Linked DNA regions of Homo sapiens: all the other regions are linked to region 1. The links are contacts of gene promoters, found by promoter capture Hi-C in human tissues and cell types (Jung and others, 2019). All regions are on one chromosome and are shown on one strand. The core of a region is centred on a gene start or on the middle of the fragment in contact, and the rest is flanking DNA. Distances in the headings are between cores, read along the strand shown. Region 1 holds the start of AGL (amylo-alpha-1,6-glucosidase and 4-alpha-glucanotransferase). Region 2 overlaps LINC01307 (long intergenic non-protein coding RNA 1307). Region 3 overlaps SNX7 (sorting nexin 7). Region 4 overlaps SLC30A7 (solute carrier family 30 member 7). Region 5 overlaps SLC30A7 (solute carrier family 30 member 7).

Region 1 (3,535 bases), core at 321-2,820:
CACTCAGCTATGGTGATCTTCTTCGGTTCACCAAGTATGCTCCTGCCTCATGGCCTTTGTACTTCCTATACCTCTACATGTAACCCTCTACCTTAGACTTCTTCTTTCTCGCAGTTTGGCATCACTTTACTGAACGTTATATTTAGAAATGCAAACCTCTCTCTGCTTACTCTTCCACACTTCCCCCTTCCTATTATATATAGGATATAACATATCCTTCTTATTATATAGGATATATTATATCCTGTATAATTTATTTAATTTATCTGTCTCCCACCAATAAAATGTAGGAGTTCCTTGAGGGCAGTGACTGTTTTATTGCTGCATTCCCAGCACCTTATGTGCCTGGCAAATAGTAGGGGCCAGAAAATGAGCTGTGGGTTCCCAAAGTCAGTTACGGACCATTTGCAACTAGCCATTCTCAGAAATCTACAGAAATAAACAAATACTTCAGTATGGGGTTTTTTTTTTTAACTTATATCCTCTTTGGACCTACAGTCATTCCACAATAAAGAATGCAAGAATCTTCTCCACACGCCACAAGTCTTAGTTAACCAAATCTTCTGTCCATTTTCTCATAACCATTAGGAGCCCTCCAAAAGCCCTGGAAGATGGGTTTTCCTTTACCCTCAGGCATTAAATCTCCTTAAGCATCTGCAAAAAGTTCTGAGTTACTGGCCTAACATAAGTGCAGCTTAATCTCAGACGATCTCCGGGTCTATCTAGTGTACATGAGGTACACCCGGACACCGTTAAGTATCAGTGGTGTTTGCACTCTCGATGGTTTGCAGACTGGCCACACCTTACCTACTGGGTCTGCATTCAGGAACATGTGTCCTGTCTGTTAGCACTAGAAGTGATGGACACGTGTTGGCTGGAATGTCAAGGCTGTAGCCAGGCCCCTTATTTTAGACACTTAGAAATCAGGACTCTGAGAACTTAGGCCAAGTAAAAATTATCAAAACAAAGAAACAAAACACGTGGTGGCACAAAAGACACCAGAAGCCAGGTCGTTTGCCCCTCACCATTCAGCCCTTCCCAGCAAAAGATCCTACTGTGCAGCTCAACCTAGCTCGCAGCCGGTACCGCGGGATTTTAATGTGCAACTGTGAGCTCGCAGGCTGTTAAAGGAAGGCCGCGCCTTGGCCGGTGCACCTTCCCCAGGGCAAGGAGAAAGCGCCGCTCCCGGCCTCAGCCGCAGCAGGCTCCAGGTCCCCCGGCCCGGAGCCGACTGAGACGGTGCGGTGCCCACGCTCTCGCGAGACTAGCGGTCGGGGCGGGCGGGTCGAGCCTCCCGGAAGTGGGCCAGAGGTACGGTCCGCTCCCACCTGGGGCGAGTGCGCGCACGGCCAGGTTGGGTACCGGGTGCGCCCAGGAACCCGCGCGAGGCGAAGTCGCTGAGACTCTGCCTGCTTCTCACCCAGCTGCCTCGGCGCTGCCCCGGTCGCTCGCCGCCCCTCCCTTTGCCCTTCACGGCGCCCGGCCCTCCTTGGGCTGCGGCTTCTGTGCGAGGCTGGGCAGCCAGCCCTTCCCCTTCTGTTTCTCCCCGTCCCCTCCCCCCGACCGTAGCACCAGAGTCGCGGGTCCTGCAGTGCCCCAGAAGCCGCACGTATAACTCCCTCGGCGTAAGTGCTAGGAATGCCGCTGGCCTCGCGGGGAAACGCATTCTTTCTATCTATAGCTCGCTCTGTACATCTTCTGTCTACGGCAGCTATTCCAGAGGCAACAACTGCTTCCCTCTGTTCTCATCTCCCCATTGGTGGCTGGCGACCCGAATTTGGGAATGGGGAGATTGCCCACCTGTTATCTTTGAGCAGACTAATCTCTTGTAAGCAGAAGTGCCATTCGGAGTCTCCAGAGCCCTGTGGCTTGGGGCTGGGAATGTCCCCCTGACTTCAGGCTTTCCTAAGTGTATTGCTTTTCTCTGAGAATGGTCTAGGTTTTTAATTTTTTAATTGTAAGAATCTGTAATACAGCATTTTTATTTCGGTCTTATTCGTTGTGCTCAAAGGCAGGAAACAACTATTAATTTGCCTTCTCGAATCTTAATAGTTATAAGATTCATTCTCTTTCATTGCTCTGCTAGGCATAAAACACACTTCGAACATGTAAGTGCCGCTGTCAGCTCTGGAGAGTTTAAGGCAATAGTTATTTTCGATATTTTAACTCCTTTTTGTTTCATAGGGGTAACTCATTCGACTGTGGAGTTCTTTTAATTCTTATGAAAGATTTCAAATCCTCTAGAAGCCAAAATGGGACACAGTAAACAGATTCGAATTTTACTTCTGAACGAAATGGAGAAACTGGAAAAGACCCTCTTCAGACTTGAACAAGGTCAGTAGCAAGTTGTTTTGATTTGCTCATTTGCGTCTTTTAAACTTTTAATTCATTGGCAGTCCTGTTAAATGTTTTAAAGCTCTAAGATAAATATTATTTCCAAGGGTCTAAAACTTGATTTGTGCAAAGATGGTGCTGTGTTCTCCATATATCACTAATTAATGTTGATTTGAATTAAAAATATTTTATATCCCTCGTGTTAGGATAAGGATAAAATAGTTCTCTTTTCTCTGCGTACTAATTCCCACTTAAGATTGAAGTTAAATATATGATCAGAAGATTGCCCATATTATTTCTAATAACATTTACTATTAAAACTTGGTAAATTACTTCATATGTAATTTTGCTTTGGGTATGCATGTAGTTTTGCCTTTGTATAACTGTCTCTTTTCCTTTGTTGAACCTTTGAATTGACAAAATAGATTGCAGCAAAAAGTATAGTAAACTATTGTTTATGTATATCAAAAACTTCTCAAATGTGGAGTAGGTAAAAGCTGAAAATATTTTCTTAGCAAATAAAAAGTGCAATAACTCATCTGGTTATGTTGAACTATATATAGTTGATCTGTATTTAAAAGATCAAATTACTTTTCTACAAGGCTAGTTAATAGATGTTTTATTTTCTTAGCCTTTGTAATTTTTCAACATTGAAGAAGTGTAATATATGAAAAATCCAGTCCCCCTTATTAATGTACCAAATGGATGTTGCTAGTCATAAACATTTCAAAGGAATTTTTAAATTTCGCTAATGTTTTAAGAATTAAATTTTTGAAAAAAATTTCACACATACAATGTGATATCTTCATGCCAAATCCGCGCCTTTTTCCAACTTTGGCATTTAAAATCACTGAGTACCTACTCCATTTTTGGCTTTCCTGACTCTGCACTTTTCTGGTTTTGATTTTTTTTTCCCCCTCCCCTGTTGCATATTCTTGTCAACTTGGTGTCTCTTACTAGGCTCTCTTCCTTTCACTTTTTAATTAATTATGGGTATCTGCTAGGAATTCTTTTTCTGTTCTCCTTCAAAGAATTAGTTACACAGTCTCATGGCCTCAACTGTTGCCTCTGTGCTAATGACTACTTTTGGAGGAAAAGCCTTGAGCTTTCTTCTTCTTGGAAGCTTTCAGCATTTGATGACGGGTAGATCTAGAGCCAGAATTCTCCTGGCTCTGCTGCTAACAAGCTGACTTGGGGCAAG
Region 2 (3,535 bases), core at 572-3,071, 1.5 Mb after region 1:
TTTCTTGGTTGTAGGAGGAGCCAAATGCACAACTTATCCTTCACCTTAGAAGGAGTATCTAGACAGGCCCCACACCACTGGGCCCCTAGAACTTTTACTGAGGTAGAAGGTCCCTGGATTTTAGTCAGATTTATTTCCCATCTTCTGGCAAGCAAATGTTTCACCAATAAGTCTAGTGTGTTTGCTGCTTCTTGCTCACTGGATCCAATCAGCATAATGTCATCAATGTAACGGACCACTGTAATATCTGGCGGAAGTGAAAAGCGATCAAAGCCTCGCCGAATAAGGTTATGACATAAAGCTGGAACTTCCACATGGTGTTGAGCCTGCAGGTGCACAGAAGTCAAGAATTGAGTTTTGAGAACCTCCGCCTAGACTTCAGAAGATGTATGGAAACGCCTGTATACCCAGGCAAAAGTTTGCTGCAGGGGCAGGGCCCTCATGGAGAACCTCCACTAGGGCAGTGCAGAAGGGAAATGTGGCGTGAGTGCCCCCCACACAGAGTCCCCACTGGGGCACTGCCTAGTGGAGCTGTGAGAAGAGGGCTACCGTCCTGAGCCCAGAATGGTAGATCCACCAACAGCTTTCACCATGCTCCTGGAAAAGCCACAGACACTCAATGCCAGCCCGTGAAAGCAGCTGGGAGGGAGGCTGTACCCTGCAAAGTCACAAAGGTGGAGATGCCCAAGACCAGAGGAAAGTTTTTGCATCAGCGTGACCTGGATATTAGAGCTGGAGTCAAAGGAGATCGTTTTGGAGCTTTAAAATTTGCCCCAATCGATTTCAGACTTGCATGGGCCCTGTAACCCCTTTGTTTTGGCTAATTTCTCCCATTTGGAACTTCTGTATTTACCCAATACCTATACCCTCATTGTGTCCAGGAAGTAACTAGCTTGCTTTTGATTTTACAGGCTCATAGGTGAAAGGGACTTGACTTGTCTCAGGTAAGCCTTTGGACTGTGGACTTTTGGATTAATGCTGAAATGAGTTAAGACTTTGGGGGACTGCTGGGAAGGCATGATTGGTTTTGAAAGGTGAGGACATGAGATTTGGAGGGGCCAGGGGCAGAGTGATATGGTTTGGCCATGTTCCCACCCAAATCTCAACTTGAATTGTATCTCCTAGGATTCTCACATGTTGTGGGAGGGACCCAGGGGTAGGTAGTTGAATCATGGGGGTCAGTCTTTCCCATGCTAATTTCGTGATAGTGAATAAGTCTCACGAGATCTGATGGGTTTATCAGGGGTTTCTGCTTTTGCTTCTTTCTCATTTTCTCTTGCTGCCACCATGTAAGAAGTGCATTTCACTTCCTGCCATGATTCTGAGGCCTTCCCAGTCATGTGGAACTGTAAGTCCAATTAAACCTCTTTTTGTTCCCAGTTTTGGGTAAGTCTTTATCAGCAGCATGTAAATGAACTAATACAATGGAAATAGCTGAGATCCAGCAGAGATAAGGGAAACACATGCCTTCCTGAGATCATAGACAAGGAAGGCCTCCAAGTCCTTGGATGGCGAGAGTGCAGGTCCCTCAAGTGGTCAACTGGACAGAGCTGAGAGTTTAAGGGCTGCAGACATGTCACAACTGTCATTTCATTTGCTCTTTATAATGACCTTAGAGGAGAGCAGAGCAGGCACTATTATTGTCTTCATTTTACTCATGAGAAAAGTGCCCAGGGTTTAATGAGTTATTCTGAGCCATGTGAATAACACTTGGCAGAGGTGTGACTTGAACCTAGGTATCCCCACTCAAATTGCCTGATTTTTCTCATTAGGCCAGGCCTCTTGTCCAGGGCTATGCATCAGAATCACCTGGGGTGCTTGTGATACTTGTGCTTGAGCCTCAGCCTTTGAGAGTCTGATTCAGTAAATCTGGGAGCTGGGCCTGAGCCCCTGTGTTTTTTCACTTTCTGTGGGTGAATGTGAGGAGCTTCCCTTGCTAAGCATCTGCCTCAGACAATGCAGGCTCAGCAGCACCTCCATTGTGGTGTTACCCCAAGCTGGCTTATAGCCTTCAGCCCTGAGGAAATGCCATATGATGGGGGAGAAGTGAAGAAACTACTTTTCACTCAGTATATTCAGTGTCTAAGGAAAGACTGGAACCATGGTAGTAGTCAAGGGACGATTTAGGGCCTTTTACCTTCACAATCTTCATGAATCGCCCATCCTTTGACAAAGACAATTAAAACAATGTTATGTATTATGTGTATTATATCCGTACAAAAATATAGTATCTTAAAAACTCATTTGGAACATATAATCCACCCCTAAACCATGGACCTGCTATGCAAATGTAGTTTCACAGCCAGTCCCACAGCTCCCTTTTCAGGTTGACTGTCACCACTAAACCCTTTCTCTAGATAAATCCTGGAGCTGTCAGGATGACTTATATGTGTTGCTGAAAGGGGAGTTATTTTAGTAGTGAGTGAAAAGACAGACAGCCTTAGAGAACTTCAGGGGTCTTCTGGTTGCAAGCCCTTGTTGATCTGGCACTAGGCTGGAGCTCCAGAGGCCAGGGGAACTGCTGGGTCAGGGGCTATAGAAGGACAGTATCTCCCTAGTTTCTCCTAAAAAGGAAAAGAGATGAGCTGTCTGATGCTGAAATGCAGTGTAATTGTAATAGGAAACTGCCCAAGCAGTGACAAAAAAGATCACAGGACATATAAGGAGATGGAAGGATTAAGGAAATTGTCCATTGGCTCTTTCTCCAAGTGCTCTGCTGATTTTTCCACTCTGTTGTCACCTGACCTCTCCTGTTGTGCAGCTCAGCATCTTAAATTGCAAAGCTGGCTTAGTCCCATGAAGGGTTTCCAACAAGATAAGTTTTTAGGAGGAAAAGGTAGACGTTAGGTGAGCAGGAAAAGGCCTCTAAGTCCCTCAACATTTGGGAAGTCCGTTTGTTTGGGTCCAGAGGGGGATAAGGAAGCTGAAAGGATGTCTACTCCATGGGAGACAGGAGACAGGACACAAGGTGACATTAGAAAAGGGAGGATGTCCTGCAGACGGAGCTTGGAGGGGATGCCAGGATGGAAGAGCCATAACAAGAATGTTAGTGTCAGAAAATAGGAATTTACTAAGACAAACATAACTCTTAGTTCTGAGTGTGAGCTCATGGAGGACCTAGAAGGAGATGCCAGCGTTTCAAAACCACAGTGGAAAAGCTGGATACCATAAGCCTGGGCTCGGAACCACATAGCTTTGGAAAGACAGCTTTGTGCTGTGTTTCTTGAGTTTGAGGGCTGGCCTCTGGGTTTTGCCCCATTCTCCTTGGAACTACACTTACCTCCTACTGTGCTGGGAATAAAAAACAAATGGTTAAAGAAAGAAACAATTTAGTCTCCACTACTGATTTTAAAAAAATAAATATCAAGTGACTGAGTGCTTTCTGAAGTTTAAAACTCTACCTTTACGTGGGTTAATAAGAACATTAGGACATAGCAAATGCTGCTTCCTGTGGGTCCTGCCTGATTGGAATTGAGTTTTTAAGTGGCCAAATCTGCTTGGGTTATTCTGCTTATGTAAGACATGACCCTGAAAG
Region 3 (3,535 bases), core at 502-3,001, 1.1 Mb before region 1:
AATAGGACTGAATTAGAGAGTGAGTCATTTTGGTCAAAGAAAGGAAGGGCTTTCTTGACATTAATGGTATTTAAACATTGAGGTAAATATAAAGGAATTTGAGATATCAGTTGAATTTTCTATGGACTTCTTTGCAACTAGGAAAAATGTTAGCTTCCTTTGATTTTTTTTTTTTTTAAGAGACATGGTCTCACTCTGTTGCACAGGCTGGAGTGTAGAGGCATAATCATAGCTCACTACAGCCTCGAACTCCTGGGCTCAAGTGGTCCTCCCACCTCTTTCTTCCAAAGTGCTGAGATGTGATATAGGTGTGAACTACTGTGCCTGGCCTGCTTTGAATGTCTTAAGAGTCATTCCACCAGGTGCAAAACTGTACTAAGTGATTCTTAATCCTTAATGCTTTTTGGTTATCATTTAAATAGTGTAGAGCCATCTTGTTTGACCTCCATGTAACTGATTTGTGTCTAGTTTCTTTCCTTCTTCTTTAAAACACCAGAAGGCCCTTCTCTTTTATGTCCTGTACTTCTCTAGCTGGTTGAATTGTTTGCTTGTCCAAACTTAGTTTTATTTTTTCCTTAACCTGTTCAGGCCATTTGTGCTTCTTATTAGAATTTCATTATTTAATATTGTGAAAACCAGTAAAAGATGAGTACAAATAAAAAGAGTCCTTGTATCCTTAAAGTCTAAGTTACATGTCTCGGAAGAAATGTGAATCACTTAAAGACATTGTAAAAGTTCGGCAAAAATGAAAGATGTAGTTGAATTCTGCACTCAAATTTCTTCACATGGGTGCTTTAAGTTTAAAAACTCTGAAACATGAAATCAAGAAAACAAGAAACTCCTATCAAAGAGGAGGCTATGATCTCTCATCCAAAGCTTGGCTAACTGATGAATATTTTATATTTTGAGCTAAAATAAAATGCTTAGGATATGAATGCATACTTCAATTTTCTGATTTCCTACCATAATTTCCTGTTTGATTATCTGATCCTTTGGAGTCAGGTAAGAAGGTTGCCACAGAGTGTAGATATGGTCCATGTGACATCCCACCCATAACTAGTTTATGCCATAGTGTATTTCTCCAGTGCTTCTACTATTTTTTGTTTGTTTTGCTCTTTACTATTTTTGAAGAATTGTACATGCGTATTCCACCAAATGTAGTACATATGTACAATGCTTAAATGGGTAAAATGTGCATTAGGAAAACTAATAAAACATTTATAGGAAAAAAAACCCTCTTAAATACTTGCTTTCAATTTAGTTTTTAGAGAGTAACAAAAAAAAAAAAACAACTTTTTAAATGTATTATATCCCCAAATGACTGATGGCTTGGGGAAGAGATGCTATTTATATTCTGAAATATATATTTTTGCTATAGGAAAGATTATTAAAACTAAGTACAGCCTATTTTATCTGTGTGTTTTAATGTAAAGGGTGTTATGAAAAGAAGAGACCAAATACAAGCAGAACTGGATTCCAAAGTTGAAGTTTTGACCTATAAAAAGGCAGATACTGATCTGGTAAGTTTTTAAGTTTCTTGATACAATCATATAGAATTCATTGTCTAAAATTTTTATTAGCAATGTCCTTACATGATTGTCCTTACATGATTGTTTCTTATATGATTGTTTCTAAGCATTAAGCAAATTATAGTAAAATTTCTTCCTAAAATCTGTTATACATTGGATACCATGTGAGTCTACAAGCTTAACAATGACGGTTTTCTGCCTTTCTGACTTATGTCTCATACTATTAAGAAAGTATAATTTTGTAAAAAGGAAATAATGTGTTAGAAGAAAGTATGAAAGGCAATGCTAGCATTATTCCAGGCTAGTAAGTACTCAGTAAGTAAATCTACTTTTTTATAGTTTTTTGAGATATTTATATACATTAATGTTCCTGTATACTTCTTTTCTAAGTGTTGTTAAAATCTTTATGAAAGGGAATATCTTTGCGTTTGCAAGTTTAATCTTTCCCTTAAGATATTTTATTATGGAAATTTTCAAACAAAATGAGATCTAATAATACAATGAGCTCTCATATACTCATAACTGGGCTTCATTAATTCTCACCATTTGGCTCAACTTTTTTTATTGTCTCTCCTCATTTTTAAATTTTTACTGAAGTATTCTAAAGCAAATTCTAGATATAGATTATTTTACCCATGGTATTTTTATATTTATATTTTAGTATCTTTGCATTTTCAGAGTAATACTATCAGGTTGGAATAATTATTCTCACTTTAAAGGTGAGAAGACTCTTGAAAGGTAGAGTAATTTGCCTAAGTTTATATATAGGTCTTGAAATGCAGAATAGGATTGGAGGTGATGACGTCTCTTGCCTGCCTCAGACAGTGCTGCCTATCAGAAAGCAGGTATAGAAGTGGGAAAAATGGACTTTTAACCTAACGAACTTCTACTGAGTGCATTATGAAATATTTTTAAAATTTTTCTTTAAATTTAAGGATTTAGGTTGTTATTGAATACAATATTGAGTGCACTTACATCAGGTGAGCGGGGGAGTCCTTGAAACTTCCCTGTAAATCTGTAATATTGCAGCCTCCTCAGCCCTGACCTGGCCAAGGACTCTGCATCCCCCCTCCCTGCTTTAATTTTCTCCCTAACTTTAATCACTTCCTAACATATGACTTCCTAATTAGTTTTCTTTGTATATTTTTCTCTCTCTTTCCCTCTCCATAATTGAAACTCCTTAAGGGCAGATTTTTTTTATTTGTTCACTGGAGTGCTCCCAGGCCCTTGTGCACTGCCTGGCACATGGTAGTCACTCAATAAATATGTAGTGAAGGAATGAGTGGAAGCCACAGGGACTACTCTGATTTGTGCAAGCATATTGAAGGCTTGAAGCATGAAGTCTCTACAAAATCAGAATGTGCAATTATTTCATTATTTAATTAATATTGTGAAAACCAGAAAAGATGAGTACAAATACAAAGAGTCCTTGTGTCTACGAAGTCTAACTTGCATAGTTCTATGCAACTTAGAATTATTATACTATGAATTACTCTCACGTTTCTTGACTATGTATATTAACTGAAATTCTGTTCTCTCCAGTGGAATGTGAGTGGGGAGTGGTGGGCTGCTGTAGACAGAGTAGGAGAAAGGAATCTGTGAGAGGGAATAACAGAAAATGTAGAACTAGATGAACTAGTGCTCAAGGGAAAACTCATCTTTATTATTTAGAGAGAACCCCAGATTAACCTTTTCTATTTGATAAGAAACAATTGACTCCTAACACTCTTTCTATATATAGTTAAGAAACATATATATACATATGTGTATAAACATATATATACATATATACATATAGTTCTTAACTATATATAGAGAGAGAGTTAAGAGTCAATTAGAATTGACTGTGAAAGGCTGCACATGTGTATAGAAATTGTAATTGCATCTTTTGAATTTTAGAATTTGTTTTTAGGTGTTAAGTAAGGATATCGAAGTTAGTGGTTAGACAAAATTTTGCTCTTGATGAAATACTAGAAACAGTAGAATATTTTAAAGTTTCAGGAGAA
Region 4 (3,535 bases), core at 281-2,780, 1.1 Mb after region 1:
TAACTAAGTTCCAGAAGCTTATGGAAAAGGATGACTTTTTCATGACTTTGGCTCTAAGTTCTAGGGGTACCTTAGGACATCTTAATATCCCCATTATTGGTAAAGCATGTTCTCTATAAATATGCATTGATTTGAGCCAGAGGTTTCAGAAACACAGTATAATTATAAAGTAAAGCACAATCCCAGGTGATAAGATTTTTGGTTATCTATTCTATAGAAGGCTTATGAAATTCTGGATTAATAGGTAATTATCCATCACTATGAATTAATTATATTTATGCAAATGTGACTGAATATTTAATTTAAATGTGAATTGCGTTACCATTATGGGCCAGTTTTCTTTGGCTTTTTTGTCCCCTGAAAATATGATATACAACATAAGCCAAATTTATTTTTAAAATTTATTTTTAAAACTATAATTTTCTTTCTTTGTGTTTGTAGATTGTAAGAACCCCTACAATATATAGGAAAACTTAGCTCATAAGCTGATTCATCAAGATGAATCTGTAATCTTGTTTTAATTAATATTACTTGACATTTATTCTCAGATCTAAGTAATAATTTTAACTGAAATTTTTTATTGTTAAACATTGTGATTGTCAGTAGACTGTTCTTCAGAAGTTTTCGTAATGCATACCCTTTTTTGTTTGGTTTGTTTATAATTACTGGTAGATAATTTTATTTACTGTTGAAGTAGTGAGGCTCTTTCACTAAAAGCTGCTTCTGAAGTAAGATTTGAATATATTTTTACTTGTAAAAAATTACTGGCAGTAAAGAGTAATAAGTAACTACTGCTTATTTAATCTGTTAGCATTTAAGGGTAAAGCTTTCAAATTAATATTATGTTTATGATTGTAAGATTATAACTGTGATTTACCTTCAGCTTTTGAAGAATAAAATCATTGCCCTGTTTTACTGGTAAACTCATACCTAATGACTCATCTCTTTTTATTTATGATAGGGAAATGGTGCTTCATTGTGAATGCTAGAATTGGGTTAGTCAACCAGAAGTGAACCTCTAATTGTTTCCAAATGCTTACTTTTTGGGTTTGGATGTAGCTCTAAGTCTTAGCTCAGTCAGGAATTTGCTAAGCTTGTCGTTTTCTACATTTCCTTTCATTATGGCTAGATAGATCCAAGCTAAAATCTGGTTTATGCTTCTCTATTACAATAGTTAATCAGAAAAATATGGACACAAACTCCTGAGCTAAACACAATTTTAAAAGGCAAAAACTAGAGTTTCTAAAGGTTTCTTTTACATTTTTATGACTCTTTAAATTATTATAGAAATTGGCCTTGTTCTAAATTGTGTATCACCGTGTGATTTAGCAAGTACCTTTATTCTCTACCATAGTTTTATGACCTAGTTATTGCTCCTACAGCTGAAATTCTTGCATTATTTTTAAATTGCTATTGGAGAAAGTTAGTGTGACATATCCATTTGCTTTGGTGAAATGCTTGCTGCTGTTGAGTGTAAAGATTTTATTAAAATTCTACCTAAAAAGACAACCATTCCAAATTTCAGTATAAGCAAATCAATAAAAACCACAATTGATCCTAATGAAAAAAAGAGATAAAAATGCACTATAATTTTATTTCCTTATATCAGTGATGATGTCTTATAATTTAGTTAATTTTAAAATATATGTTTATTTCTAACATTTTATTAAAATGTTTATCTACATATTGTTCTTGAATGGTGTTAAAATGAGTGATCTCTAAATTTCCTTTTAATTCTAATATGATATTATTTGTGATCATGTAACTTCTTTACTAATTCTAGAGTCCTCAAACTAAGGGCCTCATGTGAAAGCGAATTTTAGGAGGAAAAAAGGAAGTACTAGGTTATTTTTTAAAAAGGTGGTGGCAGGGAGTAGCAGACTTTGGAAGGCAACACACATGGAATACACACATAAAAATTTGAACAAAGATTTGGATAAATCTGTAGATGTTTTTTCTAGGTGACTTATTAAGAGACTGTTGGACTGTCTAAGGGAATGTCTTTAATGTTTTAAGGCTGATCTCCTCAAGGATTATTATAGATGGGATTCACCATCTGTTACTGTGTTTAGCTCCTTGGGGGAAACAACTAGACTAAACCTGAATATTCTAAAACAATAAATTTTTAAAAGTTGTTCACAAAAGTTATTCACACCTATTGCTTAAGTAATGTTATTTCTCATACTGTATGCCTTCTGTTGCAGTTGAGTCAGTGCCTCTTCTATTCCTTTTTCTCTTCCCCTTTACTTTTAAAGGTATGTTTAAAAAGAAGTTATCAACATACCAATTAAGAAAACCATTTACCAAAAGTTCATGGAAAATGAAAATGGATACAAGCATAATATGTAGTTGCTTTAAATTCATATGTGCCTTCTTCTAAATGGTTGGCCCTAAATAAGTTTGATGACTGATTTCCATTGCCTTCTCTGCAGGCTTATTAAAAATAAAGTTATGAATTTCTCTGAGATGAAATATTCTATATTATTTATTTTTGTATTTCCAGTGTCTAGCACATGCTTGCTACATGGTTGGCATATAACAGATGTTTGTTGACTTGAACTTTTCAAAACTGAACTTGGAGTCTAACGACCTGATCTGTTCTAGTTCTCCTGCTTAATAGCTGTGTCCTTAAACAAGTTACTTTGGTGCTCTAGGTCACCATTGCCACAACTCGAGAGTAAGGTCCCACCTGGTTCCAGAAAATCTGATGCCAGATATATAGTAGTAGATCCTTAATAATCGCTTAATATTGATTGCTTAATAAAATTCATTTGCTGGATTTTCTATCATGATAGAATAAATCATTTTGCCAAGTATATCTATGTGTCATTTGGTGACACTGCTTTTTTCCCCTTAGTATATAAAAACAATTTATATTTTCTTTCATTTCCAAATATATTCTCTCTCTAGTATTCTTTATAGTTTAACCACTTTTTCTTATTGAATGGAAAATATATAAAAGATGAAAGAAATTGCCTGGATGTTTAGTCTACTCCTTCATTTTATAGATGAGAAAACTGATGCTCTGGAAGACTATGTGATTTGCTTAAAGCTATTTAATGGCAGAATCAGAACCCAAGTGTCATGGTTTCCATGAGTGTAATTTTCACGTCAGATATCTAAACATTGTTAATAGTTCCCTAGATTGAGATTGGAGAAGAAATTATTAAAATAACTAAACTTACGAGGTAGGTAGGAAAAAAACCTTTTTTCTAATTCTCAAACATAATTCAAGGAGAACAATTTTTGTGCCCATTTTCTGAGTACAGTTAGGAAAAGATAAAAATTTTAAGTTTAATATATGAAAACATTCTGTGATGGATTCTTTTTTTTTCCTGAGAAATGAGGATGGAGAGAGTAAAGAAAAATGATGGTTGAATTGTACCTAATTAATATGCCATCATTTTTTTCTTTGCCTTTTTTGTAAACACAGGAAGTCTTCAGCTATTTAATAGCAACACAGTAGGTAGAAACAGATCCCACTCTTTAGTTTAGATGAATGAATAACCAATATTCTTCACTGTCAAAATCCTTA
Region 5 (3,535 bases), core at 722-3,221, 1.1 Mb after region 1:
AGCATTCATATATATAGAGAATATATTTCCCAGAATGTTAATTGGCTCTCTCTGGGTAGTGTAATTTTAAAATTACATCTCTTGCCTAATTTCTCTATGGTAACATTTTTGACTTAGACTTTAAAAAAGCATAAGTTTTTTAATGAAAGTCAGTTAAAAAGTAGCTCCAAAGTACAAAATAAAGAAATTCTAGTTCAGCATTTTTTTCATTTAAAAAAGAAAACAAACTGAATTTATTTAAATGTACACCTGATAAAGAACTATTTGCAAGGAGATCACTCTGAGATGTTTTTCAAATTGGTAAAAATTTGCCTGATTTTAGGAAATAGTGAAAACTCTTAAAAAATCAACTAAATAGAGTATAAAGAAGTATTTTTCCCTACCATTAATTTTTATATATTCAGTATTTGCAGTTCATCAATAGCAAGAGAAATAGTGGCACTTCTTTTAAATTCTCTGGGTCTACTGCTGCTCAGTTGAAAACGTGCCATGGAAATATATGTCTATCCCTTCTAGCTTGCCCAGCGTTCCATTTTCACTTCCACAGTGAAAGTTATTTCTTAGAAAAAGACAGGTTTTTTTTTTTCAACATTTTCTACACAGACAAAGGGTGATAATAAATTTTGGGGTAAAACTGAGTTGTATTGTGATGAATTTTGTTTTGCAATGAAAAACAGGAGAATGAATATAATGTAAGAGTGTGATTTTTTATTTTCTGAAAATATGATTCCTATAAGAGCTTTCAGAGTAGTTCTGCTCCTTTTTTCCCTAAGGTGAGTTGGGATAGAAGATGAATTCATAACTTAGAATGCAGAAATCTGAACAATTAGTTGTAGCTTTGAATCTCACTGCAGTTTAGAGACGAGGCAATTTACATAGATCTGTAGCTTGATTTTTTTTTATTCACTTAAATGAAAGGGTTACCTATGCATGATGGATAATTATAAAACTAAGCAGGATATAGAAATATACTTTGTTACTGGTGTGATATTTCTGAAGCCTTGCTAGATTTTTTTAAAAAAATCAATTTTCTGCAACTCACCAGTTACCATCTTGTGGTGCTTTGTACTTTTATATACATATATATATACATACCACAAAATCATTTGTAAGTACAAAGAAAAGCTTTTTAACCAAAAACAAGTCTTTTTGTTAGGTCTAAAATTTTAAAATAGCAGCTTAATTTTAGAGGAAACAAATTTTTAGAGGCAAACTGAGGTACAGACTTTAGAAATGATAAATAATGGTCTGTATAAAATAGAATGTATACTAATGGAAACAAAATTATAAACTTGAAATTCTAAATTATAAGAAATCATCATTGTTCATGAATATAGGATTTAGACCCTGTACTGATTTTGATAAATCTTGTTGATTTCATATTTAAATAGAAAGAGTTGAATAGAATAAATTTGTGGCCTGTATTAAGCAAAAAGTAAGCATTTTTTTTTTTAATATGTAGAAAGTTACCATATGACAAATTCTGGAGATTTTACTTTTTTCAAAATTGTTTTTGGGTGTTCCCTAACAATTTCCTTTGTGGTTTGCCTTTCAAGTGGTTATAATTTGTGAACTATTACTTTTGGGGACTAAGATAAACAGTTTACCAAGATTTTAACTTGCTGCTTGTATATGTGCCCATATTGTAAAATTGAACATATGGGAACATTATTGCATAGTTATTGTATTCTTTAATCATGCATAAAACCATCATAGTAAGAACATTTATAAAAACTGATTAGTCTAACAGCCTTTCTCAATTGGGAAAGAACACCCTAATACTATAAAGCCTCAATTTGTATGGAATTATTAACTTCTTACCTATGTATCTAGAAAATTACAGTTATGTATTATCCTTGGGGCAATTGAGAAATAGTCGCTAAAATCATTTTCTGTGTTCATTGGTTCAGATGAGGAACCCTAGTTAAAGGCTGGCAGAGGGTTTTATAATACTGGAAAGAACACAGTGAGCATAGTAATGGTAAACAGAATTTTGAACTTAAGAACCTAATTATGTAAGAATATCATTCAGCAAAAATTCGGTAGTTTTTATTGAAACATCTGCTTTGTCCTCAACACTTTCTTAGGATCTGAGGATACAGTATCAGGTATTAATTCAGTACAACTACCAATAAACTGCCATTAAGTATATTTTAAAAATTCCTGACTTAAGCAAAATCTCCACTCATTTCCTCTCTCTGCCATTACATTACTACACACATAAACACACACATGCACAATTCGTAAATATGCCTTAACTGTCAATGCCTCCAAAAGGTTGTAACTGCTAGTATTAGAGATAAGGTTATCTCCTGGCCAATGAAGAGGGAGCAGGGTTTTTGGTTACTAGGATTGCTTACTGGATTTTATTTTCCATGCTCTTATTTGAAACTCACTGAGTATTTTTTTTTAATTTTTACTGTTCAGTTACCAGAATTTAGTACCAGAGTTTAGTACTGTGCTCTTATTAAAATATTCACTGTAAAACCTAACTGCTTTTTGCATTGTTTCTTGTGGGAAATCGGTGATTTTTAAACAGCCAACTTAAAAATACCTTAAAATACTACCAATTTGTAAATTAGGAGTCTATTTGTAAACTGGATTTGTAAATTGGAGTTAAAGTGTTCTGAGATACCATCTTCCAATCAGAGTTATTCAGGAATTCATTGTTGAAATGTATTTGGTTTCTTTTAAACATCAAACATACTGTATTATTTTTTCCTTTACCCTAAAGCCAAAAACTCCTCAAAAAGTCAAATAAGAAGAGCTGTGTACAAACACCAGAGTGTGCTATTTCTGCTTTTAATCTAACCCTACCATTTTTGTTGTTGCTATATTTGAACTGTAGTTTTTCTAAGAAATGTTGTATGTTTCATCATTGACTTTATTGGAGTATAAAAGCTAAAATGAAGGGAGAAATTTAAAAATCAGAGTGTTATTCCTTTTCCACAAAAGTTTTAGAACGGTTAGTCCCATAAAAAACTGCTTAATGGCTGGGCACGGTTGCTCATGCCTGTAATCCCAGCACTTTGGGAGGCCGAGGCGGGTAGATCACCTGAGGTCACGAGTTTGAGACCAACCTGGCCAACATGGTGAAACCCCATCTCTACTAAAAATACAAAAATTAGCCAGGTGTGGTGGCACACATCTGTAATCCCAGCTACTTGGGAGGCTGAGGCAGGAGAATCGCTTGAACCTGGGAGGTGGAGGTTGCAGTGAGCCGAGATTGCGCCACTGCACTTCAGCCTGCGTGACAGAGCAAGACTCTGTCTCAAAAATAAATAAATAAATAGGAAACTGCTTAATATGGCCTCTTTGTGGTTTGCAACTGATATTTCTATTACAAAGCATGAAAAATAGAAATGTGAGTGGTATAATATAACTAGATATATACGTTAGTAATTTAAAATCTAATGATGGTATATATGTGTAGGTCTGTGATTAAAAATCAAGCCAACACTTTTTCCTTTTTATTTATGCCTTATCATTGTTTGATATGGGATTGCTTGGTTTGTGTAGGTTCATTTAAGGAAAC

The links. The method cuts DNA at HindIII sites, captures the fragments that hold promoters and counts their contacts. A contact is called where the count stands out against the background at its distance.
Region 2: a fragment that was not itself captured here is called in contact with the fragment with the promoter of AGL in region 1 in 1 of the 25 tissues and cell types used here (spleen).
Region 3: a contact is called between a fragment that was not itself captured here and the fragment with the promoter of AGL in region 1, in 1 of the 25 tissues and cell types used here (liver).
Region 4: a fragment that was not itself captured here is called in contact with the fragment with the promoter of AGL in region 1 in 1 of the 25 tissues and cell types used here (stomach).
Region 5: a contact is called between a fragment that was not itself captured here and the fragment with the promoter of AGL in region 1, in 1 of the 25 tissues and cell types used here (neural progenitor cells).

What each region holds. Positions count from the first base shown.
Region 1 is chr1:99,848,791-99,852,325 of GRCh38, forward strand. AGL (amylo-alpha-1,6-glucosidase and 4-alpha-glucanotransferase) reads left to right here and starts at 1,571. Exons shown (of 34, transcript NM_000642.3): 1 at 1,571-1,625; 2 at 2,185-2,334. The coding sequence starts at 2,253. RefSeq lists enhancers at 717-1,691, 892-1,041, 1,692-2,665 and a silencer at 1,222-1,541. The HindIII fragment of the contact is 6,862 bases long and covers 1-3,535 here.
Region 2 is chr1:101,362,249-101,365,783 of GRCh38, forward strand. The region is part of intron 4 of LINC01307 (long intergenic non-protein coding RNA 1307); the gene reads left to right. Among named protein-coding and RNA genes, the nearest start is that of LINC01307, 40 kb to the left of the region's middle. RefSeq lists an enhancer at 1,773-1,842 and a silencer at 2,273-2,372. The HindIII fragment of the contact is 7,284 bases long and covers 1-3,535 here.
Region 3 is chr1:98,700,384-98,703,918 of GRCh38, forward strand. SNX7 (sorting nexin 7) reads left to right here. Exons shown (of 9, transcript NM_015976.5): 7 at 1,434-1,520. Among named protein-coding and RNA genes, the nearest start is that of SNX7, 40 kb to the left of the region's middle. The HindIII fragment of the contact is 3,132 bases long and covers 186-3,317 here.
Region 4 is chr1:100,954,533-100,958,067 of GRCh38, forward strand. All of the region lies in intron 8 of SLC30A7 (solute carrier family 30 member 7), which reads left to right. Among named protein-coding and RNA genes, the nearest start is that of SLC30A7, 60 kb to the left of the region's middle. The HindIII fragment of the contact is 6,198 bases long and covers 1-3,535 here.
Region 5 is chr1:100,929,142-100,932,676 of GRCh38, forward strand. The region is part of intron 8 of SLC30A7 (solute carrier family 30 member 7); the gene reads left to right. Among named protein-coding and RNA genes, the nearest start is that of SLC30A7, 35 kb to the left of the region's middle. The HindIII fragment of the contact is 3,099 bases long and covers 423-3,521 here.